Regions from separate parts of the Homo sapiens genome. Here all the other regions are linked to region 4. Evidence: promoter capture Hi-C in 16 types of primary human blood cells and fetal thymus (Javierre and others, 2016). All regions are on one chromosome and are shown on one strand. Each heading gives the region's core, a stretch centred on a gene start or on the middle of the fragment in contact. The rest is flanking DNA. Distances are from core to core; before and after follow the strand shown. Region 1 overlaps SKAP2 (src kinase associated phosphoprotein 2). Region 2 overlaps SKAP2 (src kinase associated phosphoprotein 2). Region 3 overlaps SKAP2 (src kinase associated phosphoprotein 2). Region 4 holds the start of HOXA1 (homeobox A1). Region 5 overlaps SKAP2 (src kinase associated phosphoprotein 2). Region 6 overlaps SKAP2 (src kinase associated phosphoprotein 2). Region 7 overlaps SKAP2 (src kinase associated phosphoprotein 2).

Region 1 (2,859 bases), core at 53-2,552, 420 kb before region 4:
GAAGAGTAAGTAGTTGAGAGTGTGGTTAACACACAAGGTACAGGCGAAGATAAGGGAAAAGTGGTGTAAGCTGCTGTAGAAAAACTAGCTTGGAAACATCAGGTTGATTTGGTTTCTCACAGGGTTTCTCTGGCTGCCTACCATTCTCCAAGGTAAGGAAAGAGAAGTGATGGCTCATGCCTGTAATCCCAGCACTTTGGGAGGCCGAGGCGGGAGGATCACCTGAAGTCAGGAGTTCAAGACCAGCCTGGCCAACATGGTGAAACCCTATGTCTACTAAAAATACAAAAAATTAGCCGGGCATGGTGGCAGGAGCCTGTAATCCCAGCTACTTGGGAGGCTGAGGCAGGAGAAATGCTTGAACCCGGGAGGCAGAGGTTGCAGTGAGCTGAAATTGCATCACTGCACCCCAGCCTGGGTGACAGAGCAAGACTCTGTCTCAATAAAAAAAAAAAAAAAAAAAAAGAAGTGATCCTGAATGACTGATGTCTATTGGCTCTATGCTCCCCTTTCATCAATATAGCCATCCACCCCTTTCCATAGCACAGCCGTTCTTCTAGGTTTTATATGTAATAGACACAGAAAATAAGCATTCATATTTGTTAAATGAATAAACTCCATTTATACATAAAGTTCCAGTTCAAGTTCCATTTCCTATGAATCTTTCATTACTTACTTACTCCAGTATTTACTGACTTCCCTTTCTTCTGGGATTCTCCAGGACTACAACACTGATACCCTACATTGTGTTTTATTGCTATTATCTATTTTATGCATTGGTCTTCTCTTCGACTTAATTGCAGTCTCCTTGAATAACAGTTTGTGGCTTTTCTGGATCCTGCTCAAAATAGTACTTTGCATGAGTGTTCACCAAATATTTGTTGATTAGAAAATGAAATAATTTTGACCATCTATACAAGATTTAATTATGTAAAAGATACTGTCAATAACATGGTTCGCTGTTGTTTAGAACTGGGATGTGATAATTACAATTAACCTCTGATATAGAAGAAAAGTTAAAGTCCTAATCAAGTCCCACTTAACCGTAGCAAAGTAGAAAGAGAAAAGGCTTTAGGGTCAGACCTGTATTGATACCTGGAGAAGGCACTTAATAGCTGCGTATCCTCAGATAATTTCCATAATAACCTTACTGCACATCAGTTTCCTAATCTGTAAAATTATAACATCATCTACTTCACAGGGTTATTATATTAATTATATGTGTGAAAGCATATTAAGTACCTAGAACAGGACATTGTAAATGCTCAATAAACACTTTTTCATTCCCTCCCCCACTCCCTGCCCACTAATTGGTATAGCAAAGTATTATGGCAACAACAAAAAAACAGAGTACTTTGGGACGCACTATAAGGCAATCTGATTATTATGAGCAGGTCTCCACCCTGCTCTTCCAAAGAGAATCTTATCTTCTCCCAAAGAGAACAAGTATTTGAGGAATATAACATTTTATTACAATTTTAACTGGTTGTTCTTTTTTTTTTTTTTTTTGAGATGGAGTCATGCTCTGTCACCAGGCTGGAGTGCAGTGGTACAATCTCAGCTCACTGCAACCTCTACTTCCCGGGTTCAAGTGATTCTCCTGCCTCAGCTTCCCAAGTAGCTGGGACTACAGGTGCGCACCACCACGCCCAGGTAATTTTTCTATTTTTAGTAGAGACGGGGTTTCACCATGTTGGCCAGGTTGGTCTCGAACTCCTGACTTCAAGTGATCCTCCTGCCTCGGCCTCCCAAAGTGCTGGGATTACAGGAGTGAGCCACAATACCTGGCATGCTGGTTGTTCCTTGATAGCTGAATACTCAATGAACATCTGTCACTTATCTATAATTTACTAAATATCGACTCTAAAACTTTTCTTAATCAGTAGTCTATCTCTAGTCTCTATGCCTAATGATTTCCCTGGAATATCTAGCTCCATGTTCTAAAGGGATGAGGAAGAAGACATCTCAAAAGAGTGAAAGTATGCTATACACACTGAGGGAGTTCCTCATTTTCAAGGCTGAAATCATGAATTGTTCAACTGAGAATTAAAAAAAATATCAACGTAGTGCTTTTCTTTAAGGTTTTGTTTTGCTGCTGCCAAACTCTTAGTTATTCATGCTGAAGTAAATCACATAGGCCTTACAGGTGGGCTCCTTTCCAAAGCAGCCCCCTCCACTGCCACCTCTGCTCACCTTGCCTCTCTGACACTGCCTTCTGGCTTTTCCTCTACCTGTCAGGCCATTGCAAGGGCTGCAGCTGCCAGCCTGCCTCCTATAAGCACCTTTTGCTTTCATCTGCCAACATTTTTCTGGAATGTTTCCTCCAATTTATGTAAGAGAAAGTAGGGAAGTACTTAAGCATATTGTTCACAAACAGATAACAAGAGGAGTCCTATGAGTAGAACTAGAACATTTTCTGACATGGTGTTGTGTCCATAAACTGCTTTTCACTCCTAGGAGGAGATGGGTACTAAATAGGAGGTTGGCCTGGTTAATGCTTCCAGTGTACTCTAGACCATACATCCATACTGACAGCATACAAACTAAATGTCATCGGAGCAAACAAATGCAAGCACAAATACAAACACTTCTTCTTATCAAAAGGCTATAAAATATAACATTTTGGAGCTAGCTTAGTGTCAACAATGCATGTCCCACATTCAGATATCCTAGTTACTCTGCAGCAGTTGGCCACGCTATTTGTGGCATACTGGGTCATACGGTTACAAATGAAAAACTAAGACAGCTAAAAAGTAACTTATTTCCCTCTGCCAATAAAGCTCAACAAGACTTTCATTTCATTTATTAACATAGGTTTGAAGCCAAAAAAAGCCATAGTAACTTAACCTTTACATTCTT
Region 2 (2,700 bases), core at 67-2,566, 270 kb before region 4:
ATATTTTCTGAATTTAATGTGACAGTAACTACATATCTTGGCTTTTTTGGTCATCAAGTAGGTAAACAACCAACCAAAGAATGAAATCATTTGAAATTTCAAGATTATCTACATTTTAAATCCATTGGCATATTTCTAACAAAATAATCCAGTTAATGCTTCTCAGGATTAAGGTTCATTTTGATCAAATTCTCATATGCTATTGTTTCATTACTTTCCTACTATCTAACAGACAGGAAGCTAAATACGATTCACCCAAATAAAAAAGATCACAGAAATTTAACATAGGTCAACACACAGGTCATGACATTTATGAACCACCACGTAAAAATGCCTGCCATATTTATTAGCAAAAAGTTGAATATTAAATCATAAAAATAATCAGTTATCTTTTAGCTACTCACAATATGATATGATTAAATAAAATATTGTCCAACACAAATTAAACTACTTATGTTCAAACATGGATAAAAATTCCAAAGAAAATATGTACTAAAATCAAGTCAATTATTCCATCCCTTGGTCATCTTGTGACATTACAGTAACCAAGAGCTAACATTGGCATGTCCTATGTACCTATCCCTACTACAATCTTTTGAAATACTATTAATTATCCCTAATTTTACAAATTAAGAAACTAAGGCTTAAACAGAAAATAATTTGTTCAAAGTCAGAGTGTCAAACCAGGATTAAACCCAGGTATATAGGATACAATAATCTGTGCATTTGACGACAACAGTACTATTTACTCATGACATGATGAAACATAAGAGTTTATCTTTTTTAAAGTCCTTGAAAATTTAGTATGCAGATACTAAAAGTACATCTGATCTGCCTTGAATATTGCTTAATATTATATAAGTTGCCAGGACAAGACATAGTAACATAACATGATGCCTGAATTACATGGAGAAAAATAATTAGATAAAACAAAGAGGGAGGAAAAAAAGCCTAAGATCACATCAACATTCAAATGAACGCCAAAGAAAATGACCAAGATAAAATGTATCACCAGGACTATAATCATACTAAGGAATGAAAGTAATTAATGGCTTCTAAAATTCTGTAAAATAGAATCACAGGTTTAGAAACAAAAGCAGCAATTCTCCTGGTTTACCTGTGAGGAAAGTTGGAGAAAATGTCTCTATTCTAAATCTTCTCATCTATCTCATTCTACTGTCTCTGGAAAGTCTTCTCTTTCTCATGATATTAAACATGTTTAGGCGAATAAATCAATGATTTGCCACATCTCTATTCCATATCTCAGACTCCCTCTTAAATATCTTTGACTGGATTCTCAATACTCCTTCAAGCTCAACAAACTTGATCTTTCTTATCTGCCTTTCCACTTTCTTTATAGATAATATCACCTCCCTGAGAAAAGAATCTAAGTATCAAGATTCACGTTAAGCATAATCATGAAGTCTACCATTGGTTCTACCCCTGGCTATTTACTCCCCTTTGTCCCACCCATCAAGTTGATCCTACACTCCGGTTCTTCCCAGGCCTGAGTTCCCCAGAAGTATACCAAGCCCTTCCTTTCTTCTACACTTCCAGCTCCCTCCCATAACAAACTAAAATTTATTTGTCATTTGATCCATTCCTTACAACTCTTATCTCTGCCTGCTTAATCTGATACATTAGCATTTGTCAGATAATTAATAATAATTATTAATGTAAGTATTTTATTTGCCAAATCCAATCTTTATTCTTTATTTCTGTGGTGATAGCTTCATCCATTATCACCTCTGTTAAGTATGACAACTGATGAGCCAAAGTAGTAAACGTAACAGATATGTCATTTGGTCTTCAATTACCCATCTGTATTTATACAAACATACCTCATATTACTGTGCTTTGCTTTAATGCACTTTACAGATACTGCATTTTTTACAAATTGCAGGTTTGTGACAACCCTTGTGGAACAAGTCTATCAGCACCATTTTTTCAATTGCACATGCTCACTTTGTATCTCTGTGTCACATTTTGGTAATTCTTACAATATTTCAAATTTTTTCATTATTATTATATCTGTTATGGTGATCTATAATCAGTGATCTTTGATGTTGCCATCTAATTGTTTTGGGGCACTATGATCTGCACTCATATAAGACAGCAAACTTTAATAATAAATGTATGTCCTCTGACTGCTCCACAACTCAACCTTCCCCTATCTCTCTGCCTCTCCTTGGGCTTCCTTATTCCCTGAAACATAACAACACTGAAATTAAGCCAATTAATAACCCTACAATGGGCTGGGCGTGGTGGCTCAAGCCTGTAATCCCAGCACTTTGGGAGGCCAAGGCGGGTGGATCACGAGGTCAGGAGATCGAGACCATCCTGGCTAACACGGTGAAACCCCGTCTCTACTAAAAATACAAAAAAAAAAAAAATTAGCCAGGCGTGGTGGCGGGCGCCTGCAGTCCCAGCTACTAGGGAGGCTGAGGCAGGAGAATGGCGTGAACCCAGGAGGCGGGGCTTGCAGTGAGCCGAGAATGCACCACTGCACTCCAGCCTGGGCGACACAGCGAGACTCCGTCTCAAAAAAAAAAAAAATTACCCAACAAAGGCTCTAAGTGTTCAAGTGAAAGAAAGAGTTCCACATCTCTCACTGTAAATCAAAAGGTACAAAAGGTAGAAATGATTAAGCTTAGGGAGGAAGGCACGTAGAAAGTCGAGATAGGCCAAAAGGAAGGCCTC
Region 3 (2,700 bases), core at 37-2,536, 360 kb before region 4:
AAGGCCACACAGATTAAAGTTATTTTACTCTCTTTTCTAATTCAATACAACACAATTGTTTTAGCTCTGAGGGTATTCTGGTATTTGGAGCATTTGTCAAATAATGAAATGAATCATAAATTAGTCAGATTATAATTGTTATAATTCTCAGTTATTATTAGTTTGTCTTCAGTTTACTCTGTACTCAAAAGAGGGGGAAGGGATGGCCAAAAATTCTTTTGCAATAGTAGTTGATATAATTGAACACCAACATTACCTTTATCACTTCCATAATAATAGAATACCGTTTTACTGAGAGCACACCACCGTTTCTGCCATTCAAATCCCAGAAAGCTGTGATCTGCAATAAAGAGGGGAAAATGTAAGGCCATTTCCTTACTGTAAAAGAAAAAGTTAATTAATATGATTTCTAAGATTCCTCTGAGCTCTAACATTGTGTGACTAATTTGTATCTTCTTTTCCAAGAGACAAAAAACCAAACAACAACAAACCAACACAGCTAAAGGGAATAAAGTAAAGTAGCTATGGGGCTGCCATACTTATGGGATCAACAGCATGGCTAACAAAGTTTTCTGACAGGGACAGTCAAAAAGGTATCTGACTATACAGTCTTGAGATAATTGATCCATCTGGGTCTCATTTTCTCATCTGTTATAAAAAGAAGGGGAGGAGCTAACCTAGATTATTTCTGTTATCTCTTTCAGTTTTAAAATTCAGCTAAGAAAGCTAAGAAAAGCAAAATGAAATATAAATAGAAAGGCCTAAAGGGACTACAAGAGAGATAAGCAGAATGGTAATGAAAAGACTGTCTGCTTTTCATTTCTCATATTATAAAACCACCTCCATATTTCATTTCCATTAAATATTGGTGTTGAAAGAGTGAGACCATATGGTCAACTCCCAATTATCATAGCCAATGGAGAGGAACACTGAAATGAATAATAGACAATGGCAGACAAAACTCCAGGCTTGATCTGAACCATGGTGCATGCCAGTTTGGGCATAGGAGAACCTGCTGCTCAGCCCATTGAGATACTGGTGAGAAATCCCACCTTTGAGAATACAGTCATGGCCTGCAGCTTTCCTTTGAGAGGCAGGAAACAGCTCCTGAATCATTTACAAATAACCAAGGTTGACAACTAAAAACCTAACCTAATGTTTTCTTATTAAAAATTATTTAAAGCTAAGAGCTATATTTTGTGGTTTGGATAATGTCATCCAGATTTTCTTACAATCTTTAAACTCTTTAATCACCTAAAACGAATACTGCCTCCACATGTATACTACAAACATGTTCTATCTAAGGATGAAATTATTTTTACATTTTTCATTAGAACCTTCAGTTTACCTTTTCTGCGTTTTTCAAGGTAGCCAGCCTTTAGAACAAAAGGAAGGTCTTGTGCTGCAATTGGAGGAAACTGGGCTCCTATGAGAAGTTGGGGAGAGAAAAAAAAAAGCAGTGGGTAATCCATTTCAGAATAAACAAGTGCCAGATCTCATTAGATTCAGTGTGCTTTTAATTACTGAAATTGTTTAAATCTAAGTCTATTAGCTTTGTTTCAGATCCATTCCCTAGATTAATCCCCTCTATTCCTCCTAAAAGTCTCAAAAGTAAAAAAAAAAAAAAAAAAAAAAAAGTTCTGTACTCCTATATGTTATTATAGCCTCCCAAAATACAGGACTGAGAAACTATTATAAATAAATGCAATAAATCCCTGAAAGAGAGGTTAAGAATTTCAAATAAATCATAGCTTCGTTATATTTATATTGAATTAACTCTTTAAAAATTTCAATACATATTGACTCTTTCCTGCATAATCCCTATTCCTACCAAGTAAAACATAAAATGCTTTTCCGAATCAAATGCTGAAACTTGTTTCTCTGAGCCCACAGCAAATATTCTCTGTGTTTGTATTCAGAGAAATGTTATGGACATTCCACTGAGTGAGTATGCTTTAGGTTTTTATAGGGCATTTAAGAGTCTAAAACTAGACAGATCTGATAAAACTATTATAAACAAATACTGGATCCCTAAAAAAAGTTTTTAAATCAAGCAAAAGTTAAGTTGATTAGAAATTGTATATTCACGGTCATGGATTATAGGTTACTCAATTTTACAAGTGTTCAATATTTTTATAAACTTCATTAGAAATATAATAGTTATCTGCCGGGCGCAGTGGCTCACGCTTGTAATCCCAGCACTTTTGGAGGCCGAGGCGGGTGGATCACTTGAGGACAGGAGTTCGAGACCAGCCTGGCCAACACAGTGAAACCTGGTCTCTACTAAAACTACAAAAGAAATTAGCCAGGCATGGTGGCGGGTGCCTGTAATCCCAGCTACTTGGGAGCTGACGCAGGAGAATCACTCGAACCCAGGAGGCAGAGGTTGCAGTGAGCCAAGATCACGCCATTGCAATCCAGCCTGGGAAAAAAAAGAGAAAAAAACGAAAACAGAAAAGAAAAGAAATATAATAGTTATCCTCAGCATTTTACTAGAACTCTAGCAAGTGAAAACAACCAATCAAAAGAAAGTTTGTATGGAATACATCCAGTGGAAATAGTTTCAGTACAACTTAGGATAGAAAATGTGTTTGAGTACAAACATGTAATTAGAATGAATAAGATCTAGTATTTGATAGCACAACAGAGTGACTATAGTCAACAATAATTTATTGTACATTTAAAAATAACTAAGTGGCC
Region 4 (2,936 bases), core at 75-2,574:
GGGCGCGCGTCAGGTACTTGTTGAAGTGGAACTCCTTCTCCAGTTCCGTGAGCTGCTTGGTAGTGAAGTTGGTGCGCACCGCGTTGGGTTGACCCAGGTAGCCGTACTCTCCAACTTTCCCTGGGGCAAAGTGGGAAGCCATGAGACGGAAATGTAAAAATTTTTAAATCGACTTGAGATTCCCCACACGCTTCATGGCAACACTCAGGTAAAGAAAAGATCAAGAACTCAGCACAAATCGGGCTGTGGAGGGTGAGTGATGAGGTGTAAAGTGTTAACCTGATGTAAACCATTAGCATGGTCAGACCGGTGATTAATGGAGCCTCAAGATATTAACAGAACACTACCGTCACAATAACCACCCCCACATACTTCCTATTTCCCAAATGTATAAAATCCTTGAAAACACACCAATCCCTGAGACTTCTTTGCCCCAACACCTCTGGGCACCCTCTCCATGCACTACAACACTAGTCTGATACAAAAGCCTTTTAAAAAAAAGATCATTATTAATTTCCTTGGAAATTAAGCATACCAGCTCCTTCCAGAATAATCAAGGAGCATCCACCAACCAGCAGGACTGACCTGTTTTGGGAGGGTTTCTTTTGACTTTCATCCAGTCAAAAGTCTGCGCTGGAGAAGATGTCTCCGATGCGGGGGAGCGACAGGCTTCTTGGTGGCTGGCGTGGAGAGGGGACAAGGAGTTATTATACGTAGCCAGGGCCAGGCTCTGGTGCTCCTGTCCATATGAGTGGTGAATGTATTGAGGCGAGCCCACCGCGCCCCCAGCATAACCCTGGTGGTGGTGGTGATGCTGGACCATGGGAGATGAGAGATTTCCAGAGTAAACAGCGGGAGCGCACTGGGGGTACCCACCACTTACGTCTGCTTCCTGATTTAACGCGTAGGGGCTGTAAGGCGCACTGAAGTTCTGTGAGCCATAGCTTGGACCACAACTTGAGTGGGAGTAGGACACCCCCAGGTTCCCGGAAGTCTGGTAGGTAGCCGGCTGGGGGTGGCGATGGTGGTGGTGGTGGTGGTGGTGGGGCGAACCGATCTGCACCCCCCTGCCCACTAGGAAGCGGTCGTCGCCGCCGCAACTGTTGGCGCTGACCGCGCACGACTGGAAAGTTGTAATCCTATGGTCCGAGGGGTAGGCTCGGGCTGAGCAGGTCCCCGAGTCGCCACTGCTAAGTATGGGGTATTCCAGGAAGGAGTTCATTCTTGCATTGTCCATCTGTCACTGAGTGACCTGGTCCTGCGAAGCCCGGCGTGACTGTGCCAACTTTCTCACTTCCTCCATGGGGCCGGAGAAGAAAAATGATATGAATGTACAGTGCGCAAGAGGGGGGGCGGGAGGGCGGAGGACGCTGGAGGAGGGGCACGTGACGGTGTCAGCCAATGGCTGAGCCTCCTGCAAAAGTTTGCCGGCTTCCGCAGTGATGGATCACCGTTTTAGTGGCATTTAAATCCCCGGCGCTCCGCCGTCTAGGTGACGCGCAGTCGCCCCCCCAGGCAGCCTAGGCGGCGGCAGCTGCTGCGGCGACTGCAAAGGCCGATTTGGAGTGCTGGAGCGAAGAAGAGCAAAAGCTGCGTTCTGCGCGCGCCCGACTCCGCTGCCCGCCCCGCCAGGCCTCCGGGAGGTGGGGGCTGGGAGGCGTCCCCCGCTCCCGCCCCCTCCCCACCGTTCAATGAAAGATGAACTGGCGAGAGGTGAGAAGGGAAGAGGGCTCCCGGCTCTCTCGGGGCGGGAATCAGTGGGCCAGAGCTCGCCGGGTGGCCGCAAGTACGCCGGCCCAGCCCGCAGCGCGCCCAGCCGGAAGGCGGGGAATCCGGCTGACACCGCGCCCCGGGTTCCCAGGCCACCTCCTCTGTTCTGAGGCTGGGCTGGGAGACCGTGGGGCTGTGAGGAGCGCATAGAACCGTGGTGGAGGGCGAGGCTGGGCCACCGGCTCTTCAAGCTCGGAATGGAGGGGGAAGAGCGCAGAGGGCTGGCTGGGAGGAACTCGGGTGGGCGTGAAGGAGACGAGGGCAAGAAAAGAAACTTCCCTTCTTCCAGGAGGGTCTTCGAAACCCTCTCCCCACAGCCCCTCTCGTCATTAGCATGGCAATGAGGAGTTTCTGTAATTCGACTTGGAGGGGCGGATGAGCCCTGGAAACTCAGAGCTCGCCGGAAAAGGCCGGGGGCGGCCGGGCTCTTCTTCCCCACCTTCCCTCTCTCGTCGCTCTCCGCCCCTTTCTCTTTCCCACTCAGTTTTGCACCGGGAGCCCTCCGGGATGCGGAGCTACTCGACCGCCGGATTTTTAGGGGTAGGAGGCGGGGGAGAGAGATGACGCTGGCGGACGTGGCCAGCGCGGGGGCCGGGCGGTGCGCTGCAGGCCATCTGCCGGCGCCCTGAGACCCAGGAGCCTCCGCGCTCCCGCGTGGGCCTCACAGGGCCGGTCCACAGCTCCAACATAGTAGCTGAACTCCCTTCGTTGCGTTCCTCTTTTTCTGGAGGGGAATGTTAGAAGAGAGAGAGAGCTTCCTTTTATAACCTTCCTCATTCTGCTGCACGTCTAGAGTGGGTGTGGGGGCTGGCAGGTGGGAGGGGCGGTGGACAAATGGCTGATGGTGGACGGGACACTTTACCCCAACGACACCTCCTCCCCTTTCCAACTGGCTGTGTAGTTGCTTATGAGAACCTTCAAGTCCTTCCCTAGAGAGACACATGCAAATCTGAGCCTCATCCCAGGCCAGGGGTCCTGTTCCTCATCACCCTACTTCCCTGAGGCTGCTGAGGTCGTTAAATTGTTGTTTACTATTAGGTTTCACGTCAACCCTGGGCTTGTAGAGAGAAAAAGCCAAACGGAGACCAAGAATTGATGCAGTCTTGGGTAGGAGAAATCGAGAGCTTGTCCAGGAAGCTTTGCTGTATAAATTATAAGCAATGCTG
Region 5 (2,800 bases), core at 57-2,556, 370 kb before region 4:
AAGATAAAAATAATAAATATTATATGTGTGTAGTGACCCTATTTTATGAATGATTTCATTTTTTTTTATAACTTCGGATAACCCTCTAAGCAGATTTTAGAGCTGAAACCATCTGTATTAGTCTGTTCTGACTCTGCTAATAAAGACATACCCAAGACTGGCAAATTTATAAAGGAAAGAGGTTTAATTGACTCACAGTTTAGCATGGTTAGGGAGGCCTGAGGAAACTTACAATCATGGCGGAAGGGGAAGCAAACATGTCCTTCTTCACATGGCAGCATCGAGAAGAATGAGTGCCCAGCAAAGGGGTGAGCCCCTTATAAAACCATCAGATCTCATGAGAACTCACTCACTATCACGAGAACTGGATAGGGGACACTGCCCCCATCATTCAATTATCTCCACCTGGTCCCTCCCAGGACACATGGGGATTTTATGGGTACTACAATTCAAGATGAAATTTGGGTGGGGACACAGCCAAACCATATCACCATCCAAAAATTCAACCCTAATCTAGTTATCTACTTGGGAAAAACTATTCCCACAATATCACCACATTGATAACTTCACCATTCAGTACCTAGTTTAAGAAAAAATAATGTTAGCAGGCTGCCTAGACTAACAATATTAAAATACTGAATATATGTGGTTCTATGAAAATTAATTGACATCTTTCCATTGCATTCCAAAGAAGAAAGGAGAAAAATTGTTTGGTGAAGTCAGGATCTACTATCACTTAAAACAATGTTAATACCACAGACTGCAGGGTCCCCTGTAACCCTGATATTAACTTAGTAATATGAGTGATAATTATTCAGGAGGAAAATAAAGCCAAAATGTATTTTGGGGGCCTATAACCACTTATTGACTAAATTAGCATTTGTGTCCATTTGCTGTAAACTACTTCAAATTAAAGTACCCAAACACTGTTCTTTTTTATGTATATATAATAGTCTCATGGAAAAAAATTATAGCTGCATTTTACTTTATGTTCTATTTTAGATGCAGATAGTTGGACTGAATACATTTAAAATGTAATTGAATGGCCAAAGGATAAAAATATCCTTTTCTGACTCAGAATAGTTCAATCTGTCATTGTAATTTAAAAAAAAATGAATTCACACTTAAAAAAAATAGGTTAATGGAATAGAAATTTGTCTTCCTGTTTTATGTTGCCCTCTCTCCTCCAGTCCACTTGCCAGAAGACATTTCAAGTGCAATCCCTCTGAAAGCTACAGATTTAATAAGTTAATGGATGGTTACCATTCTCATTACTAGGCTGATTCTATTCAGTTTAGATCTAGAAAAATCTTTTTGTTGTTGTTGTTTCTGTACAATTTCCTGCCATTAAAGAAAAAAAATCAAGTGACATAGTGAATAGAAGAGAAGAGCAAACAGGGTTGGTTTCTGCAGCAATTTCACGAGTATTATTTTCCCCTTTTGAGATTCAAAATGAGACAAAGACACTCCTCTGTATTTCTAATGAAAAAGTGAGCAATAAATTTACAAACCTGTGCTGAGCCAAATGAACTCATTACCATGTTAAACAGTTTAACACATTTTGATCAATATATTAGCTGCACAAACACAAATATGCTATAGTATTATTACAATGTAAACAAACCTGACTGGCCTATGCTAATAAGCAATAAGACATAAAAGATGTAAAAGGATTAGGATATTTGAAGAAAAGCCAAATACCTTTAATACTCCCCAGAAATGGCATTCTCGCAACTCTTTTGTACATATGTATAAATCCCTTAAACACAAAGAAGTCTTACAAATTTATTCCTATTCCTTTACGAAGTTAGTTAAAAATAAATGAACAAGAAATTAAACAGAAGGTACTGTAATGAAGTTAGAATATTCTAACTGAAAAACAATTACAATGAAACAATTTAGATTCCTGTAGAATTATAAACATTTTTCAAGGGATATTATGCAATGCAATTTTTTTTTTTTTTTTTTTTTTTTGAGACACAGTCTCACTCTGTTGCCCAGGCTGGAGTGTAGTGCCTCAATCTTGGCTCACTGCAGCCTCCGCCTCCCGGATTCAAGTGATTCTCCTGCCTCAGCCTCCTGAATAGCTTGGATTACAGGCACCTGCCACCATGCCCGGCTAATTTTTTATTTATTTTTATTTTTTTATTTTTAGTAGAGACGGGGTTTCACCATGTTGGCCAGGCTCGCTTCGAACTCCTGACCTCAAGTGATCCACCTAACTCGGCCTCCCAAAGTGCTAGGATTACAGGCGTGAGCCACTGCGCCCAGCCCATTGCAATTTTTAAAACCACGTTTTCTTCTTACTCTTGAAACTCAAAACACTGCAGGTTTATTTCATAGTTTTTAAAAAATACACTTATTAGAGTAAGAGCTTTCGTTTCTCAGAAAAAGAGCTTTGTGATTTAAAGTAGCATAATAAATGCTTAGATTTCTCTTCAAATACATTTGTATACCTCATCTTTCAACTAAGAGGATTAGTTTTCAACAATGCATAATTGACAGAAAATTGTGTTGAAATTGTAGTATTATTTAATTCTGGGAATTTAGCCAGTCAGATATCAGAGATACATAGTTCTTTGCACAGAACTGGAAAAATATCAACAGTATGTAAATGTGCTTACTGCTCTTCCATTGTTCTAACTCCTCTATCAAAATTATATTCAAATTTCACAGAAGTGAAAGCAATAAGCTTAATTCTTGTCCTGAAAGAGAGACAATTGTTTTAATTAAAAAAGTTACCTTCCTAGTTTCAGACATTTAATCAAACAAAACCTCTAACTCTGAGACACCTTTAGGG
Region 6 (2,713 bases), core at 136-2,635, 260 kb before region 4:
TGACCAGATTTCACAAGAACTCACTGTCACGAAGATAGCACGAGGCCATGAGGGATTTGCCCCATGATCCAAACACCCCCCAACAGGCCCCACCTCCAGCACTGGGAATTACAATTCAACATGTGATTTGGGCGGAGATAAATATCCAAACTATATTAGGTGGAGACAGATTTAGCGTTTCTAACAAGCTCCCAGATGATGCTGATACTGTTGGTCTACTGACCATACTTTGAGTAGGAAAGGGCTAGAAAATCACTTCCTTTTCAGTACAATATCCACCTCTCTAGCCCAGAGTCTTATCAACACTCCCTTAATCAAAAGCAGCAGAGCAGTATGCTAGCTGGGGAAGAGGGAAAAAGTAACTCTTTTAAGAGCAGAGCATAATCCTTACAGTTGACAGACATGAATTCAAATTCCAGTTCTGCCACTATGTAGCTATATGCCATTGGGCATATCACTTAACCTCTCTATTTTAGGTTTCCTCATTTGTCAAATAGTGATAGTACTCTACTTCATAGAGATACTGTCATGATTAAAAATAAGTAATGTAGCAAAGCATTTAGCTTGCTACCTCCACTAGATGGTCTCTACGCCTTCATTTAACCTACATTTAACTTCCAGGACAATATCCCTCAAATCTGCATCCCTCACTTCAGTATACTCCTTCAGGGATCTCTTAATGACTACCAAATCAAAGGTAAATTCCTTAATTTGGCATTCAGCTCCTACTATAAATCATGCACCTACCTCCAAGACCCCCTCCACTCCTTCCTATTCAATACCACCTCTGGTCGTCACCCATATCTTCCCCATGCAGATCACCTCACCTCACTGCCACCATTCAATTTACTAATTCTGAAATGTGGGGACACAAGCATTTAGTGCTCTAGGGAACGTCTAAGCAATTACCCGGTTCAAACTCTTCATTTCACATACCAGAAAATAAAAATCCAAAAAGGCCTAAGCAACTTGTCCTTGACAAAAAAGTTATCATCAATTATAATGAAAACCTGGTTTCTGAGCTTGAACTCCAAAAGTTCTTTTCAGTTTGTTTTCCCATTCTCTGCAACAAACCTCAAGACCCACATAAAACTCACTTAAATAAAAGGCCCTCCCTCCACAATCTCTTAGAATTTAGGCATAAAGTTTATGCTGTGGTTTTTTTGACAGGATGCTAAAACATATGGCTGATTCAGCCAATACATCAGGAAGTAAAATCAATGAAACCAACTACTTGCCTTGGTATAGACTAAATCAATTGAATATTGTAGCACGTAGTATTTATTATTTTTGGAATCTGGTTTAATATAACCTAGATTGCTAGTTACCTTATTCTAGGTGATTATCTTCTCCTGCCATCTAGATTACATTTTTCTTAAAAATAGGAACTTTATCTTATTCACCCCCAATTGCCCTGTCCAAGTATCTTGTTCTCCTCTTCATGTACTGTGTAAATAACTGCTAATTTGCTGAATTAAAGATGCATTATTTTTCATAATGTTGAGTTTTACTTAACCTTTGCAGTCTTTCGTATCTAGTCCACTTTGTTATAGTATCATCCGTCCACTCTGTTTTATTCTGATGAATTTTCCTGATCAATAGCATAAAAACTTAGAAAGATAATTCTCAATGGCTATGTGTTTTATTTACTAATATATACCTTTGTATCACAAAAATATTTTACATCTGTGTACTTTATATCCCCAATTGCACAATATATACCTTGAGGATTAAAAATATGTCCTCTACTTTCTGTCATTTCCTCAACTATAATCCCTTCTCTTCCACCAAAATACTTGAAACTGTGCTATACACATAGCACAATGACTAAAATAATCATTGTTATTAAACTGCTAAAACATATATAAGCTAGCAATTTGGCATATTAAGACAACCCAAAAATTTTAAAAACAAAAGTGAAATGTTGATACATGTTATATATGCAAAAATATGTGCAAATTGCAAATTAATTGAATTTTTTAGAACAAAATACAAAAGATAATTTTAGGTGTCAAAAATATGATAGTGGGTTAAAAACACCCTAAATGCTAAGTTATTGAAAAATTTTTTTTCTAGTTTTAAACATTGTTTCATAGTTATCCTAAATGCTAAGTTATTGAAAAAAACCTTTTTTTCCAGTTTTAAACATTGTTTCATACTCTACTGATATGAGAGAAAAGTAAAACATCTATTTCGTGGCTTTTGTAAGAACTGATTAGTGCTACACCTAATTTTACACAAAAAAAGTCTTCCTCAAAAATTTGGTACATTAAATTTATGTTGTGCACACGGACAGGTTTATATCTAAGCCTGTTTTAGACACTTTCTAAGAGCTAATTATTTATAGGCATCCTGGAGACAATCTCTCTAAAGAAATCTGTTGGAAAAAATGATTTACATGCTTTATTAATCCAAATTTTTGTACATTGGATTTTTGTAAAGAAAAGTATACCAAAAAAAATTTTTAATATTATAAATTATGATAATAGTTCAGCCTTTTTCTTAATCCCTGAGATTTAAAAAATAGTTCCATTCCTAAAAAAAAATTTCTTCACACAAACCTGTGTCTCGCAATGCCCACAGCCTTTCAGTAACCTAGGTTATTCAGAAATTTTTAGTTAGAAAGACACCAGGACAATAAATGACTGTTCTATATTTTCAGCTTCATTTTAGCCTTCCTGTATTCACACCCTAGAGGTTTCAGATTTTTATC
Region 7 (2,786 bases), core at 120-2,619, 400 kb before region 4:
TATTCATTGTCCCCATACATTTCTTATCCCAAAAGTATATATGCATTTCATTGTAAACTGTTTTGAATCCTTTTTTAGAAAGTAAAATACATCAACTCAATTTAGATTTTTTTGGCTTGCTTTAAATTTTATTAGATTAAAAAATACTATCTAGTGACAAATAGGCTGATGTTATGATTATTTGATTGTAATGTGGCTGTCTTATCAGGGTCTACAACTGCCTACTATAACCTCTGGAAAAACAGCTGATATATGGATGCAGAGCTCATTTGTTATAGGCTTTTGCTCTGTTTCCTCTGCTTGCCTATGCAAATATACCCTTTCTCATCATATGCAGTGCATCTTAACCTCATTTTCAAGAGCCCAAGAAAGAAAAAGCACAGTTTCATAGAAAGAACCATCACCATTAGACTTACTGGCTCCACATCCCTTATACCAGCAGTGCTTTCCAAGATCTGTTTGCAGGGTGGAGGGTCTGTGGGGTCAAAGCTATTTTCATAATAATACTAAGACATTATGTGTCTTTTTCACTATGTTAACATTTGCACTGATGTTGCAGAGCAATGATGGGTAAAACTGCTGACACCTTAGCATAAATCAACTTAGACTGCCCTGCACTGGCATAAAAGTAAAAAAATGAAAGAAGTCAGTTGCACTAAAGAATGTCCTTGATGAAGCAGTAATAATTATTTTCACCTAATATCAACCTTGAGTACGTAACTTTAATATTCTATGTGACAAAATCAGAAGAATGTATAAAGCATTTCTGCTACACCACCAGATGCGTAAGAATCTGAGTGTTGAGCTGAATTAGCCATTTTTTTATTCATGGAACACCATTTTTACTTGAATGACTGACAAACTGGTTATTTAGACTTGGGAATCTGGCAGACATTTTCTCAAAAGTAAATGAAATAAGCTTGTCATTTCAAGGGAAACAACTGACGGTATTTATTGCCAATGATAAAATTTGAGCTTTCAAGCAAAAATTAGGATTTTAGAAACTTGTATCTGCCACTGTTAGCTTGACAGCTCCCCACTATTTAAAGACTTTTCCAATGAGATGGATGGTGATATAAACAAAATGTGGGTTTTTCTTAGGTTGTGTCATAGTTGTGTCAATATTTGTAGGTTCTGCATAATGTAATGAACTAGTATTTTCCAACTGACCAAAGCATGTTACAAAATCAAGCATGGGTAAAAGATCCATTCAACAAAGTGCAAGACAGGCCTATGAATTTTAATGTAAAAGAGTATGAAAAGTTCATTGGTATGGTTTCAGATTCCACATTGTACCAGCTTTTAACTACTACTTGTCGCGTCTGGGTACAATATCAAAAAAGAATACCTACAATTACCTGCAAGTAAAGTACCTCCCTTTTCCTTCCTACATATCTGTATGAGGTGGATTTTCTTTATAAGTTAACTGTACTTAAACAATATATCACAATAAACTGAATGTAGAAGCAGATATGAAACTCTATTGTCTTCTACCAAGACAGACATTCAAGAAAGCTGTAAAAATGTAAACAATGCCATATTCTTCTAATTTTAGGGGGAAATATAGTTATTTTTCCTAAAAATAGGTTATGTACAGATGTAACAGGTTTATCATCATGACTTTTAAATTCATTAATAAATCAACATTCTTTAAAGATCTGTTTTAATTTCCAATAGGGTAAATATTGAGATTTAACTATTTACCAACCTATTTATCATTAGATAGTATTTTTTAATCTAATAAAATTTAAAACAAACCAAAAAAATCTACATTGAGATGAAATACTTTACTTTCTAGAAAAAAATTCAAAACATAAACAAAAGCTTTTAAGGGTCCTTGATAATTTTTAAGATTGTAAAGGGATCCTGAGATCAATAAGTTTAAGAATGGCTACCCTGTACTTTCTAGGGTAGTTTTAGTTAAATATCTAAACATTGTTCATCCACCACATGAAAAAAAATGATATCCTGCTAACCTAGAACACTATTTGATAATTATTTTATGTTCCCAAAGCACACAATCTCAGGATTGAATCACATTAAACTGTTGACTCATATTGAGCTATTGACCAAAGTCCGTATGTGTTTTTCCCATTTTCTGTGAAGCCAAGTCTTTCCTTTCTTGTACTTGTGCAACTAGATTTTTGGAGCAAGTGGAATATTCTATCATATTTCATCTTGTTGGATTTGACCCATGATTTTGTTCTATTGAGAGCAAGCCTGTATCCAAAACAATGATGAATAGGTTGGATATGATAATATTGAAAATAAAGCCCTAAGGTATTCATAAAATCAATTAATTAGCACTCTTTGGACACAGCTGTAGAGTCAGTTATCTGGTGGTCTCTATATCTATAAAGATTTCATGAGAATCCTGACCACATGTCTTACTGAAGTCCAGTTATATGTCCACCAATTCCTGGAACTCATACTGGGTTCCAGTAATTAGTGTTTCATCTTCTAGTTAACATAAAAGACTCTCTTTGATACTCTATGTTAGCAGTTTCTGGAGTCCTCTTTATAGCCCATTAACTATCTAGAATTTTCAGAATTCATCTGAAAAGGGATACCAGATACGCTTTTCAGAACCAACACAGCCATCCCCAACTGCTGGGACTCAAGCTGCAGTTGGTTCATAACTGCGTCTCTCACTAGAAATTGCCCTCAACTGCAGGGAATTGCTTCACTCAAGGTTATAGGGCCTCCCAGAGAATGGCTTGGAGCCAATGAATAGCTAATGCAGGAATACAAAGACAAGCCCCTATGCCTCAATTTGGCACAATCCT

Evidence for each region. Contacts are between HindIII fragments. The CHiCAGO score rates a contact against its expected background, and 5 or more counts as called.
Region 1: a contact is called between a fragment that was not itself captured here and the fragment with the promoter of HOXA1 in region 4, in 8 of 17 cell types (endothelial precursors, M2 macrophages, neutrophils and 5 more). The highest score is 10.0, in endothelial precursors.
Region 2: a contact is called between a fragment that was not itself captured here and the fragment with the promoter of HOXA1 in region 4, in 1 of 17 cell types (neutrophils). The highest score is 5.6, in neutrophils.
Region 3: a fragment that was not itself captured here is called in contact with the fragment with the promoter of HOXA1 in region 4 in 1 of 17 cell types (neutrophils); the score reaches 5.4 in neutrophils.
Region 5: a fragment that was not itself captured here is called in contact with the fragment with the promoter of HOXA1 in region 4 in 1 of 17 cell types (neutrophils); the score reaches 6.9 in neutrophils.
Region 6: a fragment that was not itself captured here is called in contact with the fragment with the promoter of HOXA1 in region 4 in 1 of 17 cell types (neutrophils); the score reaches 6.1 in neutrophils.
Region 7: a contact is called between a fragment that was not itself captured here and the fragment with the promoter of HOXA1 in region 4, in 2 of 17 cell types (endothelial precursors and megakaryocytes). The highest score is 10.5, in endothelial precursors.

Annotation. Positions count from the first base shown.
Region 1 is chr7:26,676,951-26,679,809 of GRCh38, forward strand. All of the region lies in intron 11 of SKAP2 (src kinase associated phosphoprotein 2), which reads right to left. Among named protein-coding and RNA genes, the nearest start is that of LINC02860, 41 kb to the left of the region's middle. The HindIII fragment of the contact is 4,779 bases long and covers 1-2,859 here.
Region 2 is chr7:26,820,341-26,823,040 of GRCh38, forward strand. All of the region lies in intron 4 of SKAP2 (src kinase associated phosphoprotein 2), which reads right to left. All of the region lies in intron 2 of LOC124901606 (a long non-coding RNA gene), which reads left to right. Among named protein-coding and RNA genes, the nearest start is that of SKAP2, 43 kb to the right of the region's middle. The HindIII fragment of the contact is 2,662 bases long and covers 1-2,647 here.
Region 3 is chr7:26,738,539-26,741,238 of GRCh38, forward strand. SKAP2 (src kinase associated phosphoprotein 2) reads right to left here. Exons shown (of 13, transcript NM_003930.5): 5 at 1,349-1,426; 6 at 257-340. Among named protein-coding and RNA genes, the nearest start is that of LINC02860, 100 kb to the left of the region's middle. The HindIII fragment of the contact is 4,131 bases long and covers 1-2,700 here.
Region 4 is chr7:27,094,676-27,097,611 of GRCh38, forward strand. It overlaps HOXA1 (homeobox A1), which reads right to left and starts at 1,325. Exons shown (of 2, transcript NM_005522.5): 1 at 586-1,325; 2 at 1-120. The coding sequence starts at 1,237. HOTAIRM1 (HOXA transcript antisense RNA, myeloid-specific 1) reads left to right here and starts at 1,419. Exons shown (of 2, transcript NR_038367.1): 1 at 1,419-1,713. RefSeq lists enhancers at 1-413, 1,295-1,589, 1,715-2,287 and a silencer at 1,642-1,811. The HindIII fragment of the contact is 6,567 bases long and covers 1-2,905 here.
Region 5 is chr7:26,720,436-26,723,235 of GRCh38, forward strand. The region is part of intron 9 of SKAP2 (src kinase associated phosphoprotein 2); the gene reads right to left. Among named protein-coding and RNA genes, the nearest start is that of LINC02860, 84 kb to the left of the region's middle. The HindIII fragment of the contact is 2,767 bases long and covers 1-2,690 here.
Region 6 is chr7:26,837,535-26,840,247 of GRCh38, forward strand. The region is part of intron 4 of SKAP2 (src kinase associated phosphoprotein 2); the gene reads right to left. The region is part of intron 2 of LOC124901606 (a long non-coding RNA gene); the gene reads left to right. Among named protein-coding and RNA genes, the nearest start is that of SKAP2, 26 kb to the right of the region's middle. The HindIII fragment of the contact is 2,972 bases long and covers 1-2,713 here.
Region 7 is chr7:26,697,866-26,700,651 of GRCh38, forward strand. All of the region lies in intron 9 of SKAP2 (src kinase associated phosphoprotein 2), which reads right to left. Among named protein-coding and RNA genes, the nearest start is that of LINC02860, 61 kb to the left of the region's middle. The HindIII fragment of the contact is 905 bases long and covers 918-1,822 here.